Regions from separate parts of the Homo sapiens genome. Here regions 2, 3 and 4 are each linked to region 1. The links are contacts of gene promoters, found by promoter capture Hi-C in human tissues and cell types (Jung and others, 2019). All regions are on one chromosome and are shown on one strand. Each heading gives the region's core, a stretch centred on a gene start or on the middle of the fragment in contact. The rest is flanking DNA. Distances are from core to core; before and after follow the strand shown.

Region 1 (3,202 bases), core at 249-2,748:
CTCTCCACCTTCTCTCATCCCCTGTGCTCCACCATCTGAGAAAGATGCCCGGGACAGAGGAGCCACGTGGCAGCAGAGCAACACTTCTGCCCAGATCACAAGTGGGCAACGTCTGCAAAGCAGGCAGCAGCAAGGTGGGGGCAGCTAGCCACAAGCTCTGAGAATCTCAGGCTCTGGCTGTGCAATTGGGCCAGTGGGTCCAGGGAAACAAACAAGGACTTTGGAGTCAGGCAAGATCTGGGCTTTGTCTTCCTGGTGGGATGACCTTGGGCAAGTCACTTTAGCTTTTTTAGTCTCATAAAGTAAGAATCTAGCCTTAGGAAGAGGCTGCCAATATTAGAGTGGGAAGTGCCTGACACATAATAAGTGCTTAGAGAATGGCAACCATATATATACATATATATATATATATATGTATGTATGTATGTGTATATATATATACACATATACATATAAATATACATATACATATACATATACATATACATATACATATATATTTTTTTGAGACAGGATCTTGCTCTGTTGCCCAGGCTGGAGAGCAGTGGCATGATCTCAGCTCACTGTAACCTCTGCCTCCCAGTTTCGAGTGATTCTTTTGCCTTAGCCTCTAGAGTAGCTGGGACTACAGGCACATGCCACCATGCCCGGCTAATTTTTGTATTTTTAGTAGAGACGGGATTTTGCCATGTTGGCCAGGCTGGTCTTGAACTCCTGACCTCAAATGATCCCCCTTCCTCAGCCTCCCAAAGTGCTGGGATTACAGGCATGAGCCACCGTGCCCGGCTGGCAACTATCTTTTATTATAATTCTGTGAGTTCTTCTCAGCAGACCTGGCCTTTCAGGAGTGGTAGGAATCAGGCTGGGGATAAGGATTCTGAAGGACCTTATTCCTGCAGGGGGCCCAGAACTGGAATCAGAGGAGGAGGCCTCCTAGATTGGACAGTGGGCAAAGTCCTCCCAGCCCCCAGGGTCCTGGCTCCCTTCCCTGTAGCCTGCTTCTGGCTGACAACAGAAGCAGGGCCCCAAGGTTAGGCAAACAAGCTAGTGATAAGGCACTTCCAGGTTGGGCCTTGCATTCAAGGCCCACCCAGCTCTGGGGCTGGCTTCCTGGCTTAGCAAAAGCCCTAGTCTTTTGTGCACACAAGAGCGGGCACCAATGGGGACACCTGCTGATTGTGCACCTGGGGCCTTGGTGCCCTGGTACAGCCTGAGTTAATGACCTTGTTTATCCACTTGAGTCATCTGATAAGGGGCAGCTGAGTGAGCGGCAGGTGGCCCTGTGCCCTGCACCGGCCACTTCATTGACTGAGGTGATATCAGTGCCACGTGGGGTTCCCAATGCCCCCTCCCCCACCACTTCCCCACCATTCCTGCCAGGGGCAATGTCTGTGTGTTTTTTTCAATGAACATGACTTCTGGAGTCAAGGTTGTTGGGCCATTCCCCCCGTTCCACTCACTGGGAATATAAATAGCACCCACAGCGCAGAACACAGAGCCAGAGAGCTGGAAGTGAGAGCAGATCCCTAACCATGAGCACCAGCCAACCAGGGGCCTGCCCATGCCAGGGAGCTGCAAGCCGCCCCGCCATTCTCTACGCACTTCTGAGCTCCAGCCTCAAGGCTGTCCCCCGACCCCGTAGCCGCTGCCTATGTAGGCAGCACCGGCCCGTCCAGCTATGTGCACCTCATCGCACCTGCCGGGAGGCCTTGGATGTTCTGGCCAAGACAGTGGCCTTCCTCAGGAACCTGCCATCCTTCTGGCAGCTGCCTCCCCAGGACCAGCGGCGGCTGCTGCAGGGTTGCTGGGGCCCCCTCTTCCTGCTTGGGTTGGCCCAAGATGCTGTGACCTTTGAGGTGGCTGAGGCCCCGGTGCCCAGCATACTCAAGAAGATTCTGCTGGAGGAGCCCAGCAGCAGTGGAGGCAGTGGCCAACTGCCAGACAGACCCCAGCCCTCCCTGGCTGCGGTGCAGTGGCTTCAATGCTGTCTGGAGTCCTTCTGGAGCCTGGAGCTTAGCCCCAAGGAATATGCCTGCCTGAAAGGGACCATCCTCTTCAACCCCGGTGAGCTCCCAGACACTCCTGGGTGGGGGGCAAGGCTGAAGCAGGGGCCAGCCAGGGAAGGTAGCTTCTAAGGGTTTGATATCTGTTATCTCATTGGGTCCTCATTTTCTTTTTATTTTTCTGAGACAGAGTCTCACTCTGTCACCCAGTCTGGAGTGCAGTGGTGCGATCTTGGCTCACTGCAACCTCTGCCTCCTGGGTTCAAGCAATTTTCTCTGCCTCAGCCTCCCGAGTAGCTGGGATTACAGATGGCCGCCACCACTCCCGGCTAATTTTTGTACTTTTTAGTAGAGATGGGCTTTCACCATGTTGATCAAGCTGGTCTTGAACTCCTAACCCCTCAGGTGATCCACCCACCTTGGCCTCCCAAAGTGCTGGGATTACAGGCGTGAGCCACCGTGCTTGGCCAGTCCTCATTTTCATCAAATAGCCATCTCACAGAAGAGGCACAGAGAAGCTAAGTGACTAGCTAAAGGTAACACAGCCAGGTAGGGACAGACCAGGATGGCAACTCAGGTCTATTCACTCCAGAGACTGGCCCTTGCCACTCTGCCTGAGAAATTTGCTCTGACCTTTACAGAAGGCTGTGGGGAGGTGGGGTGGGCAGACACAGCTGTGTCTCAGTCACATCCTCAAAGGAAGGCTGCATGGTGAAGCTCTAGAGCTAAAACTCCTCTGTGGGTTCAGAAAGATCACATAGAAGAGATGACTGAAAGGGGCGTAGGGAGGACAGGAAAGGAGTCTTTATGGAATTCGGCCAGGAGAGCGGCAGATGGAGACAGTGCTGTTTGTAATCTGGAGAGCATCTGAGATGAGAGTTCCCCAGGAGTCCCTTGTGGCACGCATAAATCGTAGTAATTAATTGTAATAATAGTAGCAAATACTCATATCACACTTACCATATGTTAGGCCCTATTCTAAGGGTTTTACATATACTAGTTCATTTAAATCTCATAAAAGCCTAGGAGACAGGTCCTATTAATATTATTATTCCCGTTTTACAGATAAAGAAACTGAAGCCCAGAGATTAAGTGACTTGCCCAAGGTCACCCAGCTAATAAGTGACAGTGCTGGGATTCATACCCAGGAAGCCTAATTCTTAACCATTACTCCACACTGCCTCTTCATAAATGGATGG
Region 2 (3,202 bases), core at 333-2,832, 480 kb after region 1:
TTAGCCATGTGTGGTAGCATATGCCTGTAACCCCAGCTACTTGGGAGGCTAAGGCAAGAGAATTGCTTGAACTTGGCAGATGAAGGTTGCAGTAAGCCAAGATTGCGCCATTGCACTCCAGCCTGGGCGACAGAGCGAGACTCCATCTCAAAATAAAAAAAAGAACAGGAATTTCACCCATGTTTGTCTGCGTCTAGAGCCCAAACTCTTTTTTTTTTTTTTTTTTTGAGACAGAGTCTTGTTCTGAACTCTTTTTTTTGAGACAGTCCCGTTCTGTCACCCAGGCTGGAGTGTGGTGGCACAATCATGACTCACTGCAGCTTTGACCTGGGCTCAAGAAATTCTCCCACTTCAGCCTTCCGAGTAGCTGGGACTACAGGTGCACACCACCAAGCCCTGCTATTTTTTTAATTTTTTGGAGAATCGGGGTTTTGCCATGTTGCCCAGGCTGGTCTCAACTCCTGAGCTCAAACAATCTGCCCACCTCAGCCTCCCAAATTGCTGGGATTACAGGCGTGAGTGACCGGGCCCAGCTCTACTGACAGATCAAAGAATATATCAAAGATTAACCTATTTAAATCAAGAAGACAGTACATGGAACAATGGATCAATGTTCCAGGGAAACAAATTTCAGTTCTCTATAAAGAATACTTAGCAGTCTAGGCTGCCCAGTGACATTAAGAGGCCTGGGCTTCCAGAAAATATCAGAGTTAGGACAAAAGTCTACCAGAAATGTAGACCTGGAAGTTACCATTCTAAGACTCTTTGGTTTCCTTGCTAAATTCCACTTAACATCATGAATTGCACTTAACATCATCAACTTTAATAACAGGTTTTTATATAAGATTATCCAACTGACCAGAAGGCCAACCGGTGCTCTGGGCCATTGCTCACCTTTATGATGTTGGCACAGAACCGCTCCCAAAGTGACAGCTCTCCTTCCTTGATCCATGACATAGTTCTTTTCCAGTCAGAAGATCACTCCAGAACAAGCAAACACCAGCCAGGTAATCTTGGATAAACAAGAAAGAAAATAAGAAGTCACCAAGGTTTGCGAAGAGCTATAACTGACTTCTGGGGAATCAGATGGACTATGGAGAGCAGCCAGCATTAGAATCCAAAGACACTGGTCTAAGCCTATAATCTTTTACCACCCAGAGTTTTATAACGCAATGTGACCTCTGGAGGCAAAAGCCTTTCCTCGGTTCTCCTGGCTTTGCAGACTTCTTCCCATTCCCATTTCCTCCGTATCTGCACTGACTTCTTCTGAACATCTAAGTCGGTTTCCTGCCACATCATGGTGCCCACATCTTGATCATTCCCCGTTTCTTCCTTCTCCATCTTCCCCTAAGCTGTTTCCAACTCTGTGCTCCCAGTTACTAACTCCTTCAGTTATCGCACGCCTAGTACTTCACGCCTCAGTGGTCTCCTGATTATTCCCTCAGTCGTCCCTTTGCTTCTCCCGCAGCTGCTCCCCGCCCAGTCACCCTCTTCTCCTCTAGTTCACCCCTTCAGTTCAGTGGCACCTGATTAGCTCCGCTGGGCGCGTCCCCACGGCTTCAGTGGGCCGGCACTTCCTCATGACGTGGCGCTGGCAGAACACGTCATCTTTGGGCGCTGCGACACGCCCCTTCCGTCACCCAAACTGAGGGGACCCTGCCCTGCGCCTGCGCCTGCGAGCTAGTGGGAGGGCGGTTCTCAGTCCCGCGGGGTGTGGAAGCCGGCGCGGGTGAGAGCCAGGCTCACGTGACCGAGCGGGGCGGGAGGCTGGGCTCCAGGCCACGTGCTGGGAGACCAGCTGGGGAAGACAGGGTTGAGCCCAGCGTTGGGAGCGGAGGCGTCTGGAAAACGCGCCAGGGAAATGAGCCAGGGGCAAGAATCGAGGCGCTTCTCGGCCGTCGAAGGCAGCTTAGGACTGCTGAGAGACTGGGTAAGGCAGCGTCCTTACCTTGGAATGCCGCAGAACCGGGCTTCATTAGAGCACTGGTGCATACTCTTAAAAATTATCTCGTTACCGTTTCGTATTTTATTTAGTGGATTTAATCGTCTGGGAAGGAGTTTCTAGCCGCAGCCAATCTTACAGACGCGCAGAATATTAATCTATTTTGTGCCGACTTAAGGCACGCATATTTTAGGATTTGTGGATTCCCAAGACCTATCCCAACGAACTCAAGAGAAGGGGTAAGGCCAGAAAGATTTCTGCCATAAGAATGACTTCTAGGCCAGGCGCGGTGGCTCACGCCTGTAATCCCAGCACTTTGGGAGGCCGAGGCGAACGGATCACCTGAGGTCAGGAGTTTGAGACCAGCCTGACCAACATCGTGAAACCCCGTCTGTACTAAAAATACAGAAAATGAGCCGGGCGTGGTGGCGGGCGCCTGTTATCCCAGTTACTCGGGAGGGTGAGGCAAGAGAATCGCTTGAACCCGGGAGGCGGAGGTTGCGGTGAGCCAAGATCAGGCCACTGCACTCCAGCCTGGGCAACAGGAGCGAAACTCTGTCTGAAAAAAGAAAAAAAAAAAAAGCATGACTTCTAAAATAACAGAAAGGTGCTCGCTTTGGCAGTACATAAATGAAAATAACAGAAATTAACCCTGGTAGAAAAGTTAAGGGCATTAGCTCTACTGAACCTTTACGAAAAAAAGGGTTGCAAGAATTCTAGGCTCACAAAACAAATTTGTAGTTCAATTTTCTCAAAATTGAAAGAGGAGGAAAAAATTCTTTACAGATTCTTATACAACCAGTATTATTTTTATTTATTTATTTATTTATTTATTTATTTAGAGACGGAGTCTGGCTATGTCGCCCAGGCTGGAGTGCAGTGGCGCGATCTCGGCTCACTGCAGCCTCCGCCTCCCGGGTTCAAGCGTTTCTCCTGCTTCATCCTCCTGAGTAGCTGGGACTACAGGCGCGTGCCACCAAGCCTGGCTAATTTTTGTATTTTTAGTAGAGACAGGGTTTCACCATTTTGGCCAGGATGGTTTTGATCTCTTGACCTCGTTATCTGCCTGCCTAGACCTTCCAAAGTGCTGGAATTACAGGCGTGAGCCACCGCGCCCGGCCACAACCAGTATTTCTTGCAAAGCATAATACAACTTTATGTAGTATTATGTTTTGAGTGGAATAAAAATTCACAATTGTCAAAGAACCTTTTTGTCGCATTTCATTTTACAATATTATTAAAGAAATGAGGCAAGGAAGA
Region 3 (3,202 bases), core at 343-2,842, 360 kb before region 1:
TAAGACAGGAAGATCACTTGAGACTAAGAGTTTGAGACCAGCCTGTGCAACATAGCCAGACTCCGTCTCTTAAAAAAAAAAGAGTGTCAAGCAATTAAGTAGAAGGAAAGAATAGTCTTTTTAGCACATGGTGCCAGGACAAGTGGATGTCCACATGTAAAAGAATGAAGTTGGATCCTTACCTCACACCATACATAAAAATTAATTCAAATGGATCAAAGACCTACATATAAAATCTAAAACTACAAAACTCTTAGAAGAAAACACAGGTGTATATATTCATGACCTTGGATTAGGCAATGTTTTTTAAGACACAACACCAAAAGCACCAGCAACAAAAGAAAAAAAGTTTAGTTGGGCATGGTGGTGTGCGCCTGCAGTCCCAGCTACTCAAGAGGGTGAGATGGGAGGATTGCTTGAGCCTGGGAGGGTAAGGCTGCAGTAAGCCATGACTGTGCCACTGCACTCCAGTGAGGGTTACAGAGACAGATCCCATATCAATTAAAAAAAAAAAATAAAACATAAATTGAATTTCATTAAAATTAAAACTTTTATGCAAAGTCACCATTTAAAAATGAAAAGACAACACACAAAGGAAAAGAAACAAAATTTCAAATCATACATATCTTATAACTCAACAATAAAAAAGGACAACCCAATTAAAAAATGAGTGAAGCATCTCAACAGACATTTCTCCAAAGAAAATACACAAATATGACAACAAGCACATGAAAACATGCTCAACATCATTAGTCATTAGGGAAATGAAAATCAAAACCACAATGAGATACCACTTCACACCCACCAGGAGGGCTATAATAAAAAAAAAATTTTTTTTTCTTTTCTTTTTTTTTTTCGAGACGAAGTCTTGCTCTGTCACCCAGGCTGGAGTGCAGTGGCGCAATCTCGGCTCACTGCAATCTCCTCCTCCTGGGTTCAAGCAATTCTCCTGCCTCAGCCTCCCAAGTAGCTGGGACTACAGGTGTGTGCCACCACACCTGGCTAAGTTTTGTATTTTTAGTAGAGATGGGGTTTCACTGTGTTAGCCAGCATGGTCTCAATCTCCTGACCTTGTGATCTGCCTGCTTCGGCCTCCCAAAGTGTGGGATTATAGGCATAAGTCACCGCGCCTGGCCTATAATAAAAAATATTGATAATAAGAAGTGTTGGCAAGGATGCAGACAAATTGGAACCCTCACACATTTCTGGTGGGAATGTAAAATGGTGGTACCACTTTGGAAAACAGTTTGGCAGTTCCTCAAAAAAGTTAAACACTGAGTTACCATATGACCCAGCAATTCCACCCTTCGGTATATACCAAGAAAAGTGAAGAAAACATGTCCACACAAAAACTTGTACATGAAGGTTCATAGCAGCATTATTTATAATAGCCAAAAAATAGAAACAACCACATGTTCCACCAACTGATGAATGGATAGACAGAATGTGGTACATCCAAATGATGGAATGCTATTTGGCCGCAAAAAAGAGAAGTACAGATTCATACTATAACATAGATGAATCTTAAAAGCATTATGCTAAAAAGCCACACACTTTATAATTTCATTTACGTGAAATGTTCAGAATAGGAAAATCCATTGCAACAGAAAATAGATTAGTGGTTTCTGGGGTAGGGCCAGTATGGGAGAAGGAAGTGACTGCTAAGATGGGTAAGAGGTTCCTTTTTGGGGTGATGAAAACATCCTGGAATTAGATAGCAGGGATGGTTGCAAAACTTTGTGAGTATAGTTTGTGAATAGTCAAAACCACTCAATTAAATAAAATAACAAACAAGCAAACAGGCGACATTCTGGATTTGGCCCACTGGCCACAAATTGCTGATCTGGATTTAAAGGACAGTCCTCACGAAAGGAAATCTCTCACAAAGTCAGATCCCCGCTCCATCTTTTTCTTTATTTTTTTTTTTTTTTTGAGACAGAGTCTCACTCTGTCGCCCAGGTTAGAGTGCAGTGGTGCAATCTCGGCTCACTGCAACCTCCGCCTCCTGGGTTCAAGCAATTCTCCTGCCTCAGCCTCCCAAGTGCTGGGATTACAGGTGCCTGCCATCATGCTTGGCTAATTTTTCGTATTTTTAGTAGAGAAGGGGTTTCACCATGTTGGCCAGGCTGGCATCTTTTTCTTTAAACATGACTGTTTAATGAACTTGGTATCTAGTTTACTTCTCTAAAATGGTATTACCTTAAAAAGCTCTGACAAGTCTTTGTTAGAATAAGGTTACACTATGCCCATGGAACTGCTCTGGTCTACCAAAGCTATTCACAAAGGAAATCAATCTAGTTTCATATGACTTGTTTCCATAAATTCATAATTTGAATGTATGCTAAAATAATATAAGAAACAAAATGGAAAAAGCAAGCAGGCCAGATTGTAAAGGTGAGATAGATACATAATGTTTGCAATTGTTTAAGGATAATATGAAGAAAACTAATAAGGCAAGAGAATAAATCCACCAAGCCAGGAACTATCTATTAAGCCATTTTTAAAACAGACATATGGTTGAGGTGGAAAGGATATGAACTCTGCAGCCAGATAAGCCTGATATAAATCTTTTAAATCTTATTTCTACCACTTATCTGACCTTAGAAATGCTGAGTTTTACTCTGATTTGTAAAGTGAGATTCCTTTCTTCTTCTCTCTACCATGTGTCTAATACGGTGCCAAGAAATCCCACAAGTGAATGAAATAGCAGGAATCAAAGTGTGATCACAACTTCCAAGGTGATCTTGGGAGATCCCTGGTAATACATACAAAATGAAAGCAAGCAACTCCCCAAAAAAGTGAGGACTGCAGGCCATGGCTGGAATCCCAGGATATTTGGTTCTTGTCAGTTGTGACAATAAAACTCATGAGATGAGCTGGCACATGTAACTAAAGAGGGATGTGGAATGCTCAGCAAAAATGTCCAAGGAAAGTGGAAAACTGATTGGGTCTTATATACTAGAACGGCTTAAATTAATCCTCATTAATTTAAATTTAAATTGTTTAATCTCAACCTCCCTTCTGGCTCTCTTACTTGGTTGCTGCCACTACAACAGTTCTTTGTATTTTCTTTTACTTTTAAAAAATGTTTTATGGAGATGGGGTCTTGCTGTGTTGCCCAGGCTGGTCTCAAACTCCTGGCCTCAAATGATTCTCCTGACTGCCAAAGTATGGGGTTATAGGCATGAGCCACTGTGCCCCA
Region 4 (3,202 bases), core at 311-2,810, 310 kb after region 1:
GGCACACACCTGTAATCCCAGCTACTCGGGAGGCTGAGGCAGGAAAATCCCCTGGACCTGGGAGGCAGAGGTTGCAGTGAGCCGAGATCGCACCATTATACTCCAGCCTGGACAACAAGAGCGAAACTCCCTCTTGAAAATAAAAAAAAAAAAAGATGGAAAGTTATCAAATTCTGGCCGGGTGCAGTGGCTCATGCCTGTAATCCCAGCACTTTGTGGGGCCAAGGTGGGAGGATTACTTGAGCCCAGGAATTCAAATGGGCAACATAAGGAGACCCCCCAGTGTCTACAAATATATATATATATATATATATATTTTTTTTTTTTTTTTTTTTTTTTTTTGAGAGGGGTCTTGCTCTGTCTCTCAGACTGGACTTCTGTGGCATGATCTCGGCTCACTGCAGCCTCTGCCTCTTGGGTTCAAGCGATTCTCCCGCCTTAGCCCCAGAGTAGCTGGAACTATTGGCGCGAGCTGCCACACCTGGCTAATTTTTTGTATTTTAAGTAGAGACGGGGTTTCACTATGTTGGCCAGGCTGGTCTCAAACTCCTGGCCTCAAGTGATCTGCTTTCCTCGTCCTCCCGAAGTGCTGGGATTACAGGCATGAACCACTGTGCCCAGCCTACAATTTTTTTTTTTTAATTAGTTGAGTGTGGTGGCATGTGCCTATAGTCCCGGCAATTCAGGAGGCTGAAGTGGGAGGATCACTTGAACCTGGGAGGTCAAGGCTGCAGTGAGCTGTGACATGATCTCTGATCTCACTTCTGCACTTCAGCCTCGGTGATGGAGCAAGACCCTGTCAAAAAAAAAAAAAAAAAAAAAGAAAGAAAGAAAGAAAGAAAGAGAGGAGAGGGGAGGGGAGGGCAGGGGTTGGGTTACCAGGTTCTATTTGTTACCAGACGAACACAAAAAGAAGCTCAATGTAGCTGACAGGTTGGAGAGGTAGGTGAGGCCAGTCCATACAGGGCTTTCTTGGACCTCAAAGGAGTTTGTATTTTATTCTAAATACAGTGAGAAGCCATTAGAGAATGGTAAGTTAACAAAGAGAGAATTGAGAAGATCCTAGAGCCACAATATTTCAAAAGGTTTCTTACTGATGAAGAAACTGATGCTCAGAGAGGTTCGGTGACTTGCCCAAGATTACACAATCCATAAACCGTGGAATTGAGATTTAGTCTCTCACAGCCTCTGATTCAAGGACTCTGTTCTTTCCACTATTATCTAATACTTGCTTGGGCCAAAAGCTTCACAATATTCTTGACTCCTCTCTATTTCTCTTATATTCCTCATCATATCCATCAGCAAATCCTGGCACCTCTACGTCCAAAATATGACCACTTGTCACCACCTGCACTGCTATCACCCTGACCCAAGCCACCATTATTTCTTGCTTTGATTCCTGCAATTGCCTCCTAACTGGTCTCCCTGCTTCAGCTCTTCCACTCCTACCTTCTATTTTCTACACAGCAGCCATAATAATCCTTTAAAAACATAAATCATATTTACAACTATTATGTACCCATAAATTTTTTTAGAGGCTGAGTGTGGTGGCCTGTGCCTGTAACCCCAGTGTTTTGGGAGGCCAAGACAGGAGGATCACCTGAGGCCAGGAGTTTGAGACCAGCCTGGGCAACATAGTGAAACCCGATCTCTTCAAAAAAATTTTAAAATTAGCTGGCATAGTGGTTCACACCTGTAGTCCTAACTACTTAGGAGACTGAGGCAGGAGGATCACTTGAGCCCAGGAGTTCAAGGCTGCAGTGAGCTATGACTGCGCCACTACACTCCAGCCTGGGTGACCCCGTTGTAAAAAAATTAAATAATTTTATGTCATATCATAAAACATAAGTCTTTCCCCTACTAAAAACCCTCCAGTGGCTTCTCATCTCACTCAGAATAAAAAACAGAGAGGTCGAGCACAGTGGCTCACACCTGTAATCCCAGCACTTTGGGAGGCAAAGGCGGGCAGATCACTTGAGCCCAGGAGTTCAAGACCAGCCTGGCCAACATGGTGAAACCCTGTCTCTACTAAAAATATAAAAGTTAGCTGAGTGTGGTGGTGCACACCTGTAATCCCAGCTACTTGGGAGGCTGAGGCAGGAGAATCGCTTGAACCTGGGAGGCGGAGGTTGCAATGAGCCAAGACTGTGCCACTGCACTTCAGCCAGCCTGGGCAAAAGAGCGAGAGTCTGTCTAAAACAAAACAAAACAAAATAAACAAAGACCCCACAATGATTTACAAGGCCTTACAAGTCTGTCCCCTCCACTCCCACTTTCCTGACCTCTCTTACATCTTTCCCTTGGCTTATTCTATTTAGCTACAATTGGTCTCCTTCAACAAGGAAACTCCTGTGTCAGGACCTGTGCATTTGCTGTGCCCTCTGCCTGGCAAGCTCCTCCCCCTCATATTTATATGGCTTGTTCTCCCTCTTCTTTTATGTCTCAGCTCAAATCACCTCATCAGTGAGTTCTTTCTGTCTACCCTTTGTAAACTAAAAAAACTCTGTCCAGCCGGGCGCGGTGGCTCACACCTGTAATCCCAACACTTTGGGAGGCCGAGGCGGGCAGATCACAAGGTCAGGAGATCGAGACCATCCTGGACAACATGGTGAAACCCCATCTGTACTAAAAATACAAAAAATTAGCTGGGCATGGTGGCGCGTGCCTGTAATCCCAGCTACTCAGGAGGCTGAGGCAGGAGAATTGCTTGAACCAGGGAGTCGGAGGTTGCATTGAGCTGAGATCACACCATTGCCCTCCAGCCTGGCAAGAGAGTGAGACTCCATCTCAAAAAAAAAAAAAAAAAAAAGACTCTGCTCAAACCATAATTTCTATCTCCCTTAACACTGCTTTATGATTCTCAATACCCTCATTATCATTTAATACACTATAGGTCTACTTACTTATTATTTTGATCCTTCCCATTAGAATGTAAGTTGCATGAGAATAAGAACTTTATTTTATTTTCTGTTCTTAGAACACTGTTTTCAGCTCTGATAACACTGCCTGGCACATAGTAGGTGAATAGAGGCAGTTGACTAAAGAATAGGACCGATGTTTTCAATGACTGAATTAACAGAAAGACAAAGTCATTCTTCTGAGGATGGGAAAGCATGTTGTAAACTAGGAAATGATATAAAAAGTTTATTTCTTCCAGTTGGTTCTTGATTTCTAAGTCTTATGATCCTCTTTGAAAACCTTT

Evidence for each region. The method cuts DNA at HindIII sites, captures the fragments that hold promoters and counts their contacts. A contact is called where the count stands out against the background at its distance.
Region 2: the fragment with the promoter of DHDDS here is called in contact with the fragment with the promoter of NR0B2 in region 1 in 1 of the 25 tissues and cell types used here (aorta).
Region 3: a contact is called between a fragment that was not itself captured here and the fragment with the promoter of NR0B2 in region 1, in 1 of the 25 tissues and cell types used here (liver).
Region 4: a fragment that was not itself captured here is called in contact with the fragment with the promoter of NR0B2 in region 1 in 2 of the 25 tissues and cell types used here (IMR-90 fibroblasts and liver).

Annotation. Positions count from the first base shown.
Region 1 is chr1:26,912,271-26,915,472 of GRCh38, reverse strand. It overlaps NR0B2 (nuclear receptor subfamily 0 group B member 2), which reads left to right and starts at 1,498. Exons shown (of 2, transcript NM_021969.3): 1 at 1,498-2,064. The coding sequence starts at 1,533. It also overlaps a transcript of NUDC not described here. RefSeq lists an enhancer at 1-31. The HindIII fragment of the contact is 33,061 bases long and covers 1-3,202 here.
Region 2 is chr1:26,430,701-26,433,902 of GRCh38, reverse strand. DHDDS (dehydrodolichyl diphosphate synthase subunit) reads right to left here and starts at 1,582. Exons shown (of 9, transcript NM_205861.3): 1 at 1,527-1,582; 2 at 895-1,012. The coding sequence starts at 957. It overlaps LOC124903883 (a long non-coding RNA gene), which reads left to right and starts at 1,666. Exons shown (of 2, transcript XR_007065557.1): 1 at 1,666-1,930; 2 at 2,785-3,148. RefSeq lists enhancers at 1,263-1,752, 1,290-1,826, 1,853-1,912, 1,983-2,042, 1,827-2,363. The HindIII fragment of the contact is 9,291 bases long and covers 1-3,202 here.
Region 3 is chr1:27,274,348-27,277,549 of GRCh38, reverse strand. All of the region lies in intron 3 of WDTC1 (WD and tetratricopeptide repeats 1), which reads right to left. Among named protein-coding and RNA genes, the nearest start is that of WDTC1, 41 kb to the right of the region's middle. The HindIII fragment of the contact is 7,092 bases long and covers 1-3,202 here.
Region 4 is chr1:26,605,319-26,608,520 of GRCh38, reverse strand. No RefSeq gene overlaps it. Among named protein-coding and RNA genes, the nearest start is that of MIR1976, 52 kb to the right of the region's middle. The HindIII fragment of the contact is 7,565 bases long and covers 1-3,202 here.